2 separate regions of the Homo sapiens genome follow, and region 1 is linked to region 2. The links are contacts of gene promoters, found by promoter capture Hi-C in blood cells and fetal thymus (Javierre and others, 2016). All regions are on one chromosome and are shown on one strand. The core of a region is centred on a gene start or on the middle of the fragment in contact, and the rest is flanking DNA. Distances in the headings are between cores, read along the strand shown. Region 1 overlaps SPTLC3 (serine palmitoyltransferase long chain base subunit 3). Region 2 holds the start of TASP1 (taspase 1).

Evidence for each region. Contacts are between HindIII fragments. The CHiCAGO score rates a contact against its expected background, and 5 or more counts as called.
Region 1: a contact is called between a fragment that was not itself captured here and the fragment with the promoter of TASP1 in region 2, in 1 of 17 cell types (activated CD4 T cells). The highest score is 5.7, in activated CD4 T cells.

What each region holds. Positions count from the first base shown.
Region 1 is chr20:13,102,654-13,108,405 of GRCh38, forward strand. All of the region lies in intron 6 of SPTLC3 (serine palmitoyltransferase long chain base subunit 3), which reads left to right. It also overlaps a transcript of TASP1 not described here. Among named protein-coding and RNA genes, the nearest start is that of SPTLC3, 97 kb to the left of the region's middle. The HindIII fragment of the contact is 1,919 bases long and covers 2,860-4,778 here.
Region 2 is chr20:13,635,010-13,641,077 of GRCh38, forward strand. TASP1 (taspase 1) reads right to left here and starts at 3,923. Exons shown (of 14, transcript NM_017714.3): 1 at 3,885-3,923. RefSeq lists enhancers at 3,280-3,780, 3,394-3,483 and a silencer at 3,674-3,823. The HindIII fragment of the contact is 10,129 bases long and covers 1-5,046 here.

The sequences.
Region 1 (5,752 bases), core at 2,569-5,068, 530 kb before region 2:
CCACCTGACTGAGAATCCTAACCACTGGGCTCCTACACTGTTCCCTGAATCATGTCTCACCTTGGTGCATTGAGCCCCCTCATTTAGAGATCCCATCTCAGTACTTTGTCTCATTCCACAATCTCCTTCCTGAGGATCAGAATCCTATGCATTACATCAAGCCCAGAGCCCAAGCCTATTGGACACCCTGTCCCTGGTTTCTAGGTTCTGCCTGTCCTTCATCTCATGCCTACAGAGTCAAAAGTTGCTGCAATTACCCCCTCCCCCTGCAGGGTAAACAGGCCCTGTCCCTAGCACCTGCCTCATCCATAAGCCCAACCCAGGTCACCTGCTCTCAGCTGTCTTTTGCACTCTTCCAAGAAGATCCCTTTGCTTCTTTCAACTGCCTAAGGCTGTGCGACATCTATCCACATGTTTAAAGAGCCATCCAGAAAACCTGAGCCAAAGTCCTTGCACAATCTGCTTTATAAAACTTAAAGGCACCAGATTTTCAGTCAAAAATGCCCTCTGTGATCTCATGGAGAACAGACCCCATAAATGTGACTTTCAAAAAATAATTGTTTTGCTTGACAAAATTGGTCATTGTGATTTTGTTTCCGCCGAAAGGCTAAAAAAGGGGGACAGTCCTCCCCACCACCATCTTAAAAGTAAGAATAATTTCTTTGTCATCATTCATAGCTATTTAAATACCCGCTACTTACTATTTCACATTTGGGCTGAATCTTGAAGGATGAAACTGCATGTCCAAAGGAATAAGAGGAGTGGATATAGAGATGGGGGGTAAGGGACTAGGAACAGTAAAAAGTGACATTCATTCATCATCCATCCATCTTTTCATTTACAAAATATGAGTGCCGCTGATAGGCAGACACAAAAATATTTTTGCTGAGCAACCCAGAGAGTAGGGAACCAAAGGGTGTCTCTAAATGCAGATGAAAGTAGTTTTTGTGGGGTCATGGATGACAAAGAATAAACCACCAACCACACCAGGAGCATATGGAAAGTGGAGGCTGAGTTTCAGCCCCAATCTCGCATTCCTGGATCCATAGGAGAGGGAGCAGGGGCACTGAGAAATGGGCAGTGAGTGAAGATCTCACAGTAGATCTAGGCCTTTGGAAAACCCACAGCTGCACAAGAGAAGAGAAAGGAGGAAGCCCTGATGTATGCAACAGTGTTGCCATTTGACAGTGAAATAAGAGGAAAGCTAAATGTCTGGGTTTTTTCTTCCGGAAGACACACTATGAACTATGCCCTACCTTCTTGGAAGATTCTGGGTCCCTTGCTGCCTTGTGCTTTCTTTTCACAAAACTGCATCTTCAGCTTTTCCAGATCCAGGAGGCTTGCTATTATTAGGGTTTTGAATGTAAGAACAGGCACAGGCTCAGGCTGGCTAAGAGCATTTGTCACCTAAGCCTGATTGTAGCTTTGGACACATAGTTGGATTATTCCAAGTATTTAGTAATTCAGTAATCCAGTTAACTATGCTGGCAAAAGGCTAGGACTGTTTTGCACTAGGCACCAGAACATGGTCTCCACATTTTCATTTCTTATAGCTAGATATTTATAACCATCTGATAGGGTTTGGCTGTGTCCCCACCCAAATCTCATCTTGAATTGTAGCTCCCATAATTCCCATGTGTTGTGAGAGGGACCCAGTGGGAGATAATTGAATTATGGGGGCGGTTCCCCCTATACTGTTCTCGTGGTAGTGAATAAGTCTCACGAGATCTAATGGTGTTATAAAGGTTTTCCCCTTTCACTTGGCTCCCACTCTCTCGTCTGCCATCACGTAAGATGTGCCTTTCCCCTTCCGCCATGATTGTGAGGCTTCCCCAGCCACGTGGAGCTGTAAGTCCATTAAACCTCATTTTCTTTATAAATTACCCAGTCTCAGGTATGTCTTTATCAGTAGCGTGAAAATGGACTAATACACCACCAAACCAGCTCAATCCTTTTAGTCCTCTACAAACCAAAAGAAACCTCCTTAGTGAGTCAAATTTTGTGCTGAGTAACACCAAGGCATTATTAATGCTCAAATAGTGGTCATTTTAAGTCCGTGGTGTGTCATTGTGACTCAAGAACCACACTGTACCATAGCACCGTGTGTGTGTGCCTAGATGGTGTCAAAATTATACTTTTATTTTAATTTCCGTATCTCAGAATTTTCTTATTAAATCAACAAGAACAGGTTTGTTTGGAGGGCTTTTGTTTGGGGAACTTTTTTTAACAAAACTTCTGGCATTGTTTTTTTCATCTGCAAAAAACAAAAACCTAACAGTCCTTCCCTACTTCTCAGAGGTGTCATGGGGATTAACATAATGCAAGTGTAAGTGCCTTAATAAGCATCATTATTTTAAAAAAAATCCCTTGCAGATGTAAGCATGCAGCTTGCTGAAACGGTAGAATCCCATAAGGCCTACAGAACATAAATCACAATCCCTTAAATCTGCGGGTTTGTAACCCACGCACTGTAGCCTTGTAGAACGACAGAGAACCAGAGAGGAACATGCCAGGGGCTAAGGTGGGGCCAGAATCCAGGCCGAGCGCAGTCTTCCCTTTTCCTGTGTAGCTTCTGTGATTCTAAGAGGTCGGAGAGTTCATCCCCTGCAGGAGGAAAAAAAAAATGGCTAATTGATTTTCCTTCTGCTCAAGAATCCTGGTGTGTTGACCCTGGGGGGCTGTGAACTCCACCAAAAGCCACTCCCATGGCTATCTCCATTCAAGTCAAACACAACGAAGTCCCTGACTTGGAAAAGACTGGGATTCCTCTTGCTTCCCTCCGCAAAATGTATAAAACACAGCGCGGCCACCGAAAGTCTTGTTTTCATGTCTTGCGTGTTATTTTTAAAAATGGAGAAAAGCTTCTCTTTAGGACTCGTGGTGTTCATTTTAAAATTCTGGATTAATCCATCGTGTTTATGTGACCTTTTTGGTGCAAAAACAACACAGTGGCCTCTGAATTTACATATTTTTTCCAAATCTTAGAATATTCATTTTAAAATGACTACTAATTTAGTTCACTTGGGTTTAGTTTTTATTCCAGTGTCGTCGGAGCCACATTTACCATCTATCATTTCTGCACAAAAACTTATAAATTCCAAGTCCCAAAGGGAAAACATTCTTAACAGGAATGCTTTTATTCACCATCTCTTTATTCCATTCAGAGGATTTGGTTATAGAAGATGAATAATAGTATAAAATATTATAGACATAATAAATAAAAGATTATAGGAAAGGAAGACTGGTTCTCCAAGTCGCAAGGTTTTCTTCAATATTTTAGGAACTCTGCCTAAAGCAAAAGTGAAAAGAAGATACCCAAATAGGTGAAAGTTTATTAACTGAAAATTTCAAAACAAGAAAGCCGCTTTTTGTTTCCTTGGCTGCCATCTAGTGGTTAATAATGTACGCTAAAACACGCTCTTGGGAACGTTCAAAAAATATCTATCTGCTCGTTTTAAAACAAAACAAAAGATACCATCAATTTTTGAAAATATATTGCAGGTAGGAGATATTTATCTTTTCTAATAATTCTTATTTCTATCCACAAGTGGCATTTCCTTGCCTGTCTCCTAGTCTACGTTCTTTCTCCAGGAAAAGAACATTGATGCAATTATTAGGTAATGATTGAGCCTAGTACTGTGTACTAAGACTAGGGCGAGAAGGATGAGGACGAGGTCCCTGACTTCATGGAAGAGAGACATGAAAGCAAAAAACGAACATCGCGATGAGTGCTTAAAAAATAATAGACAAGTCGGGAGGGACACCAAGGAGGAAGCCCTTAACTCTGTTCTGTATTATTGACGAGAAGAGTTTGGGTTAAGACTTCAGTGATGAGTGAGCATTCTCCAGACAGACAAGAGGAAAAAAAGCATGGAGGAGAATCAGGAGGCTGTGTGTTGGGGGATGTTGACAAACTATGTCAGAAAGACAGGCAGAGGCTATATCAGGAAGGGCCATTCGAGATTGTATTAGGCAACTATTACTGGAACAAACCTCAGTTGCCAATAATAATCAGCAAGTATTTCTCACTGGAGGCTGCAGGTGAGCTGGGGTAACCGTGCCCTACGTGCCATTAATCCTCTCCCAGGGCCAACCTGAGACCAGGGGGCTAGCCTGGGCATTTTCTTTTCCTGTCACTAGCAGAAGCACAAGAGAAAGAGTAGAAATGCATAAGACCTCTTCAGATCTAGGTTTGGAACTAGCAAACTGTCTCTTCTCTGTATTCCGTTAGCCAAAGCAAGTCACTTGGCTGAACCCAAGCCAAGGGGCAGGGAAACGTTCTCCACTGGTGAGAGGAAAGGACTGCAAAGTCACAGAAGAAGGAACTCAAATGAGGTGGAAAATGGGCCAGTAATGTAGTCTGCAGCAAGTTCCATCTTGGAAATGGGTTTGAGGTTCCCATATTTGTCTAAAAAATGGTAAGAAAAACATTATATCGATCAAAGTAGAGGTCTCGCTTTGCGTTATGGGTTCCAGACCCCAGGGATACTGAGCATACAAACGTCTGGGCCCTGACCCACACCAACTGATTCAAAATCTCTGAGTAGAAATTTCGAGAATCTGCATTTTAACTGGTTACCCAGATGATTATTTCTATTCATCCTGAAGGTTGAGAACCACTGGAAGATTAATGAGAAAATAGAAAAAAAAGTCAAGGAGAAAACATAAAAGGAAAATGGGTTAAAAGAGGAAATAGTGCTCACAAAGAATACTAGAAATAGTGGGAAAAGGAATAAGAAAAACTAATGAAAAATGGTGTCCAGATGGCAGAGGGAAGAAGCTTAAAAGATAAGTGTGTGTTGAATTGTGTCAAATGCTGCCCACGGTCAAGTAGAACAAGAACTGAAGAAAGCTCTGTAAATTTGTCAATTAGGTAATATTATGTGAAAAGAACACAATAGTGATGCCAGGATATCAGGAGGCCTGTTTTGCAGATAAAAAGAGAAAAAAACAAAGAAAAGGAAAGTGGCATGAAATAAAACAAAGATCCACCATTCTTCCAATTCTTCTTTCACGGGTCCTTACGATCTTGGTGAAATTGATTAATTCCACATTTAAACTGACAAAGCACCTAAAGAGTTAGTTTCTGGCTAGTGATTAAAGAAAGGAAAGGAAAATGACCTTTTTTTTTTTTTTGTATCTGTTGGTTCTGATAACATGCCAGATATTATTGGTAGCATACAGGTAGCATACTATATCTAATACCTAAGGCTTTATATATTTGAATAAAGAATTATTCCCTTAATTCTTCATTATTTCATTATATATTTCCTTTATTTTTTCATTATTTATGTGATGTTTTCTTAAGGATGTTAAAGGAAGTCAAATAGTGTATTAACACTACTGTTTGGATTTCCAAGAGATCTTGCTAGTATGCAGCATCTTATTCATGTCACATGCTTTTTCTGAATTTCAGGACCCGATACCCAGTCTCTAGTGGGTGGATGCTGAGGACAGCTTGGAAGGTGCCATGCTAACAGGGGCCTCTCAGAGATGAGGTTCTGATATTGCACTATCAAATTCTGACTTGTCCTATCCCACTCCAAGTCATAGGAAGTCACCTTTATTTAAATGTGGTTTGCTTAAATGTACTTGATAATTAAAAAGAAACACACACACACAAATATATTCACAACTCTATTTCAAAGAACTATCTTGTGGCCTCATTGAATGTGGCAGAGTTGCAGTGTGGAAAAGTTAATGCAGCCACTAATGCATTCACTCAGCTTTGGGGGAAGCCCTAAAACAGATC
Region 2 (6,068 bases), core at 2,673-5,172:
AAGAGCAAAACTCCATCTCAAAAAAATAAAAATAAAAAAAAGTTCTAAAATTGAATTTGGTAATGGTTGCACAACTCTGTGAATACACTAAATACCACTGAATTGTACACTTTGAATGGGTAAATTGATACACTGGGTACATTTTAAATGGGTAAACTGATCTTATTAAGCTGTTCGAAAAAAAAGAAAAAAAAGTCTTGCTCCCCATAAATTGTATCTTTCCCAAGTTACTTAACCCAATGGCATTTTCTTAATCTTCTGCTTACAACCTTTGATTCTCTTGATCACCTGCTTTCCTTGGCAACACACAAATCTACTACCCTAGTTCTTCATAACTCACCTCTGACCCCAACTGCAAATGTTTCCTTCAGCAATTTCTTTTTTTTTTTTTTTTTTGAGACACAGTCTCGCTCTGTTGCCTAGGCTGGAGTGCAGTGGCGCAACCTCAACTCACTGCAACCTCTGCCTCCCGGGTTCAAACAATTCTCCTGCCTCAGCCTCCTGAGTGGCCAGGACTAAAGGCACGCACCCCCATGCCTGGCTAATTTTTGTATTTTTAGTAGAGACAGGAATTCACTATGTTGGCCAAGCTGGTCTCGAACTCCTGACCTCAGGTGATCCACCCACCTCAGCCTCCCAGACTGCTGAGATTACAGGTGTAAGCCACCACTCCCGGCCAACCTTCAGCAACTTCATCTACTGCCAACCTTTCAAAACTATCCTCTCAGCAAATCAGATGATTCCTAACTTTATCTTCTGTCTTACCTATAGCCACAAGTTTTATGGATAGCTCAATCTAGGTCCACCTCACTCTTGGCCTAACCAAAACACGCTCTGCAGGGACTTTCATGGCACTAATTTAAGGTCTAAATCTTGCCTCATCTCTCTAAAAGATGGTTTTATTTTCCTACTGTATGTGATGACACTGTTTTTTTTTCTTACACCACTTTGAAAACTACCACGTCCTGTTGCTGTGGTGTTAAAGTTTTTCACCGTAGGTTTGCTTATTCTTTAAGAAGCAGTTGAAAAAGGAAGTAAGTCATGGAATTCATCCATCTTACAGCAAAGGGCTTTGATAGAAATCCAGCCCTTAAGCTATTACAACTCATGAATAAATAATTGTGTTGTTGCTTTTTTTTTTTTTTTTTTTTTTTGAGACAGAGTCTCACTCTGTCACCCAGGCTGGAGTGCAGTGGCATGATCTGAACTCACTGCAATCTCTGCCTCCCAGGTTCAAGCGATTCTTGTGTCTCAGCCTCCTGAGTAGCTGGAATTACAGGCGCAGGCCACCATGCCGGGCTAATTTTTTTTTTTTTTTTTTTGTATTTTTAGTAGAGACGGGGTTTCACTATGTTGGTCAGGCTGGTCTTGAACTCCTGACCTCAAATGATCCGCCTGCCTGGGCCTCCCAAAGTGCTGGGATTACAGGCGTGAGCCACCACACCCAGCCTTGTGTTGTTGCTTTTAACATCGTGATATTGAAGGTTTAATGCCTCATTAAATGAACTCCAGGACATACTTAAATTCATCTTCTAACCAGTAATTCCACTTCTGAGAAAACTTTCTACCAAAATAACTAAATAGAGAAAAGGTTTTATGCCTTTTATACCATGTTTAACACAGGATAATTTAGAATAACAAAAATCTGGGAGCAACCTAAATGTCCAATACAGAAAAACGGTTAAGAAAACAATAACCTACACTTTTATGATCAACTGATTTTCAACAAGAGTGTTGAAATGGTTTCTACCATTCAATGGAGGAAAGGACAGTCCTTTCATCAAATGATGCTAGAACTGGATAGCCACATGCAATAGAATGAAACTGAACTCCTACCTCACATCATACAGAAAAATTAACTCTAAATATCCTCCCTATTGCACTTGACAAGTCTTTGAAAAAAAAATTCTAAGTAGATAAAGGACACCATTCAAGAAAGTAAAAGGACAACCCATAAAATGGGAGAAAACGCAAGAAAATATTGCAAATCATGTATCTGGAAAGGGACTTACATTTAGAATATAGAAAGAACTCATACAACTTTAATATAAGACAATTCAATTTAAAAATGGGCAAAGGAATTAAATGGACATTTCTCCAAAGATATACAAAGGGTCAATAAGCACATTAAAAGATGCTCAACATTATTAGCCATCAGGGAAATGCAAATCAACACTACAATGAGCTACCACTTTATAAGCACTAAGACTGCTATAACCAAAAAGAAAGATAAGTGCTCCCAAGGATATGAAAAAATCAGAACCCTTATAACCTGCTGGTGGGAATGTAAAATGGTGCAACCAGTTTGGAAAACATTTGGCACTCACTCAAAAAGTTAAACATAGAGTTACCATATGCCCACCAATTCCACTTCTAGGTATATACTCAAGAGAACTGAAAACGTATGTCCATACAAAAACTTGTACACAGATGTTTATAGCAGAATTATTCAAAATAGCCAAAAAGTAGAAACAACCTAAATGTCCATCGACCGATGATGGTTAAGCAAAATGTGGCATATTCACACAATGGAACATTACCCATCCATAAAACAGAATGAAATACTGATACACAGACATTGATGAACCTTGAAAACATACTAACTGAAAGACACCAGACAAGTGAGGCCATATATTCTATGATTCCATTTATATGAAATGCCAGTATAGGAAAATCCATAGATACAGAAAGTAGATTAGTGGTTACAAGGCCTGGGAGAGAAAGCAGAGAATCTAATGGGGAGTGACTGTCATGAGTATAGGATTTCTTTTGGGGGTGATGAAAATGTTCTGAAAGTAGATAGTGGTGATGGGTGCACAACTTTGCGATATGAGAAAAAGCACTGAAATTTACAATTTTAAAGAATAAATTTTATGGTGCATGAATACCTTAATAAGACTTTCTCAAGAGGAAAAAAGACAATCTATCCGTGCAATGAACACAATGTATGTAACTATGCCTCTTAGTTATAACCGTATTTTACACGCATACATTATGATCACAAATAGGTTAATATGAATAAAATATTAGAAAAAAGATCAAAATGCTGGGTTGGCAGAACTATAGGTGATCTCTTCATAACTATTTCTGCATTTTCCAGATGTTCCTTAGTAAGCACTGCTTTTTGTAAGTGGTGGGGAAAAGTTTTATTTACAACAAAAAAGATAAATTATTAAACTCCTAAGAATATAAGTAAAAATTCCTTCGCTAATAAAGAATAATAATAATTCAGCAATCTAATGGCCCCTAACACACCTTTCCTTCCCCTCCCCTACAGAAGCCAGGAAAGTTGAACTCTCTCCTTCCGGAAACACGATACCCTCGATTTCCAGGACATCTCTAGCTCCTGCTTTCCCCCCCTCCTCTCCAGCTGCTCCATCTTCTCGGTCCTTTCCTCCTCCTCTTCTTCCTCCTCCTCCTCCCCCTGAGTAGTAAGTGCTAACGACCCGCAGGACTCTCATCAGGCCTCTATTACTAAGTAAGGGGCTGCCTTACCCCCAACCCGCCACCCAGGACAAGGCGCACATTCTCGGCTGTCTGCGAACCTCGGACTCTGAGACATCTCCAGCCTGAGACTGCAAAGTGGGTGAAGAACTGCGAGAACTCCCCACATACAGACAGTACTTCCCCGGTGGCCACGAGGACGCCAAGCCGGAGATGAGGCTGGGAAGGGGGACGACGGGGCCGCCTAGAGCGACCAAGACTAGGGAACTAGGGACATCCTGGCCCCCTCCTCTAGCCCCGCCCGGGGCAAGGGGTGTCCTGCGCGCCGCCCCCTCTCGGACCCGGAGAGGACGTCCCAGCTAGCGTACGGGGCCCACACACAGAGGCAGCAGCGCGGAGGCGGCAGCGGCGCGGACAGCGTGGGAAAGAGGGACACTCACCCGCTTCAGCCCCGAGCCTTCACTGCACCGGAAGTAGTCACCCGCCCGTTGCCAGGGTGAGGAAGCGGGGCTGACATCAAGTCTCCCCATTGGTCATTCGGGGTACCACGTGGTCGGAAGCAGCCTCCCACAAGCGGCTCTGACTCCGCCCTCCGCTTCGGAGCGGCTCACCTGGCCTCAGAGGTGCAGCGCTAACTCCACCTGGGGCTTCGTTCTGAGCTGCGCATGCGCTATTGCTTATCTCTACCCACCCCGCCCCTGAATAAGCCCGCAGGATGTGATTATATCTGAGTGGTTGATTGACTAATACTGTGATGAGAAATGAAATTAAACTGACCATCATTTTATCTAGGTGTCGCTTAAGAGTTACTTTCTTTCAATCCTTAGAGCACTGTTAGACGGTAGGGAAAACTAAGGTTCAGCCTGCATTGCTTGTAGGAGTTGGGGCACGAGCCTTGCCCAGGGGGAAGGAGTGTAGGCGGTCTTTTATCGGCTAGGATGTAAGACCGAAACCCAGTCATGGGTTTTGATGACCCATGACTGATGGATTTTCCTTATACTTCCACCAAAACATCACGTCGAACTGAATGTAAAGGCAGAAATGAGAATCTAACTGGCTTCTTTAAGCCAGCTATAGAGGAATTTACACTAATGCAAAAGATAACACTTTTCTTACCACATTTTTTTGTTTTTGGAAAATATTTATTCTTCATTAAAATGTCTTAATTATATTAACACATAATGGTTTATTATTGTTATTTTAAATAACTTTTTAACATTTCAGTTTTTTGTTGGTTTTTTTCTTTTTTTTTTGGAGATGGAGTTTCACTCTGTCAACCAGGCTGGAGTGCAATGGCACGATCTCGGCTCACTGCAACCTCTGCCTCCCGGGCTCAAGCGATTCTCCTGCCTCAGACTCCTGAGTAGCTGGGATTACAGGCGCTCGATACACACCCGACTAATTTTTTGTATTTTTAGTAGAGACGGGTTTTCACCATGTTTGCCATGCTGGTCTCGAACTCCTGACCTCAGGTGATCCTACTGCCTTGGCCTCCCAAAGTTCTGGGATTACTGGCGTGAGCCACCGCACCCAGCCACATTTCAGCTTTGTATTCAATTTTTAATATAGTAAATATTAATAGATGTAACCCACAGAAACAAAAGCTTTGGAGTGTTCTCTACTATTTTGGGGAGTATAAAGGTATGCTGAAACCAAAAAGTTCGAGAACCACTGATACCATTATTATAAATATAACCTATGTGGTTTTATTATGTAACTTGGGGCTTTTTTTCTTTCTCTTCTACCACTGACTTCTTAGGGAGGGGCAAGGGGAAGAAGTTTATTACATAGTAAGAATAACAGTTTATTACATAGCAATAGTAACTGAAACCGATTTTGTTACCTAGAAGTAGGATGGATATTATAACAAAACATAACATAATAACATCATAAAAGTAAAACGTGTGGCACTGGCTTTGGAACTAGGTGAAGCAGCAAGAGCAGGAAGGGATCCAAAGTATTAACAAGAGTCTAAAAGGACTTGAGGAAGCTGCCAATGAGGGCTTAAAGGGAGCTAAGGAAGATGTTATTGGAAGCTGGAGAAAATGGGGCCCTTGTTATATAGTGCCAGAAAGTTTGGCCCAGGCATTAGGAAGCAGACATAAACCATCCCCATTGTGACCTTTCTGAATTCCTCACCCGCAGAATCCATCAGCATAATAAAATAGTTGTTCTTTTGCACCTTTAAAGTGGATTTTTACACAGCAATATTAACTGGAACCAGCAGGAATAAAAGAAAGATGTTAAAGTTTTAAAAAGACATAGACATGCTCCCTTCCATTTCTTAGGCAACATTCTTCCTGGAATTTAACTACATTGTAATAATCATCTCCCAGTGCTGCTCTGTATACTTTTGTCTTGGGTATCACACCCAGATGCCACACAGGCCATCCTCTGGTAGGTGAATACTGCTCAAGTAAAAGTAACAAAATTCTTCGGACCCTTTTTTTTATTATTATTATTGAGGCAGAGTCTCACTCTGTTGCCCAGGCTAGAATGCAGTGGTGCGATCTCAGCTCACTGCAACCTCTGCCTCCCCGGTTCAAGTGATTCTCCTGCCTCAGCCTCCCCAGTGGCTGGGATTACAGGTGCCCGTGACCACGCCCGGCTAATTTTTGTCTTTT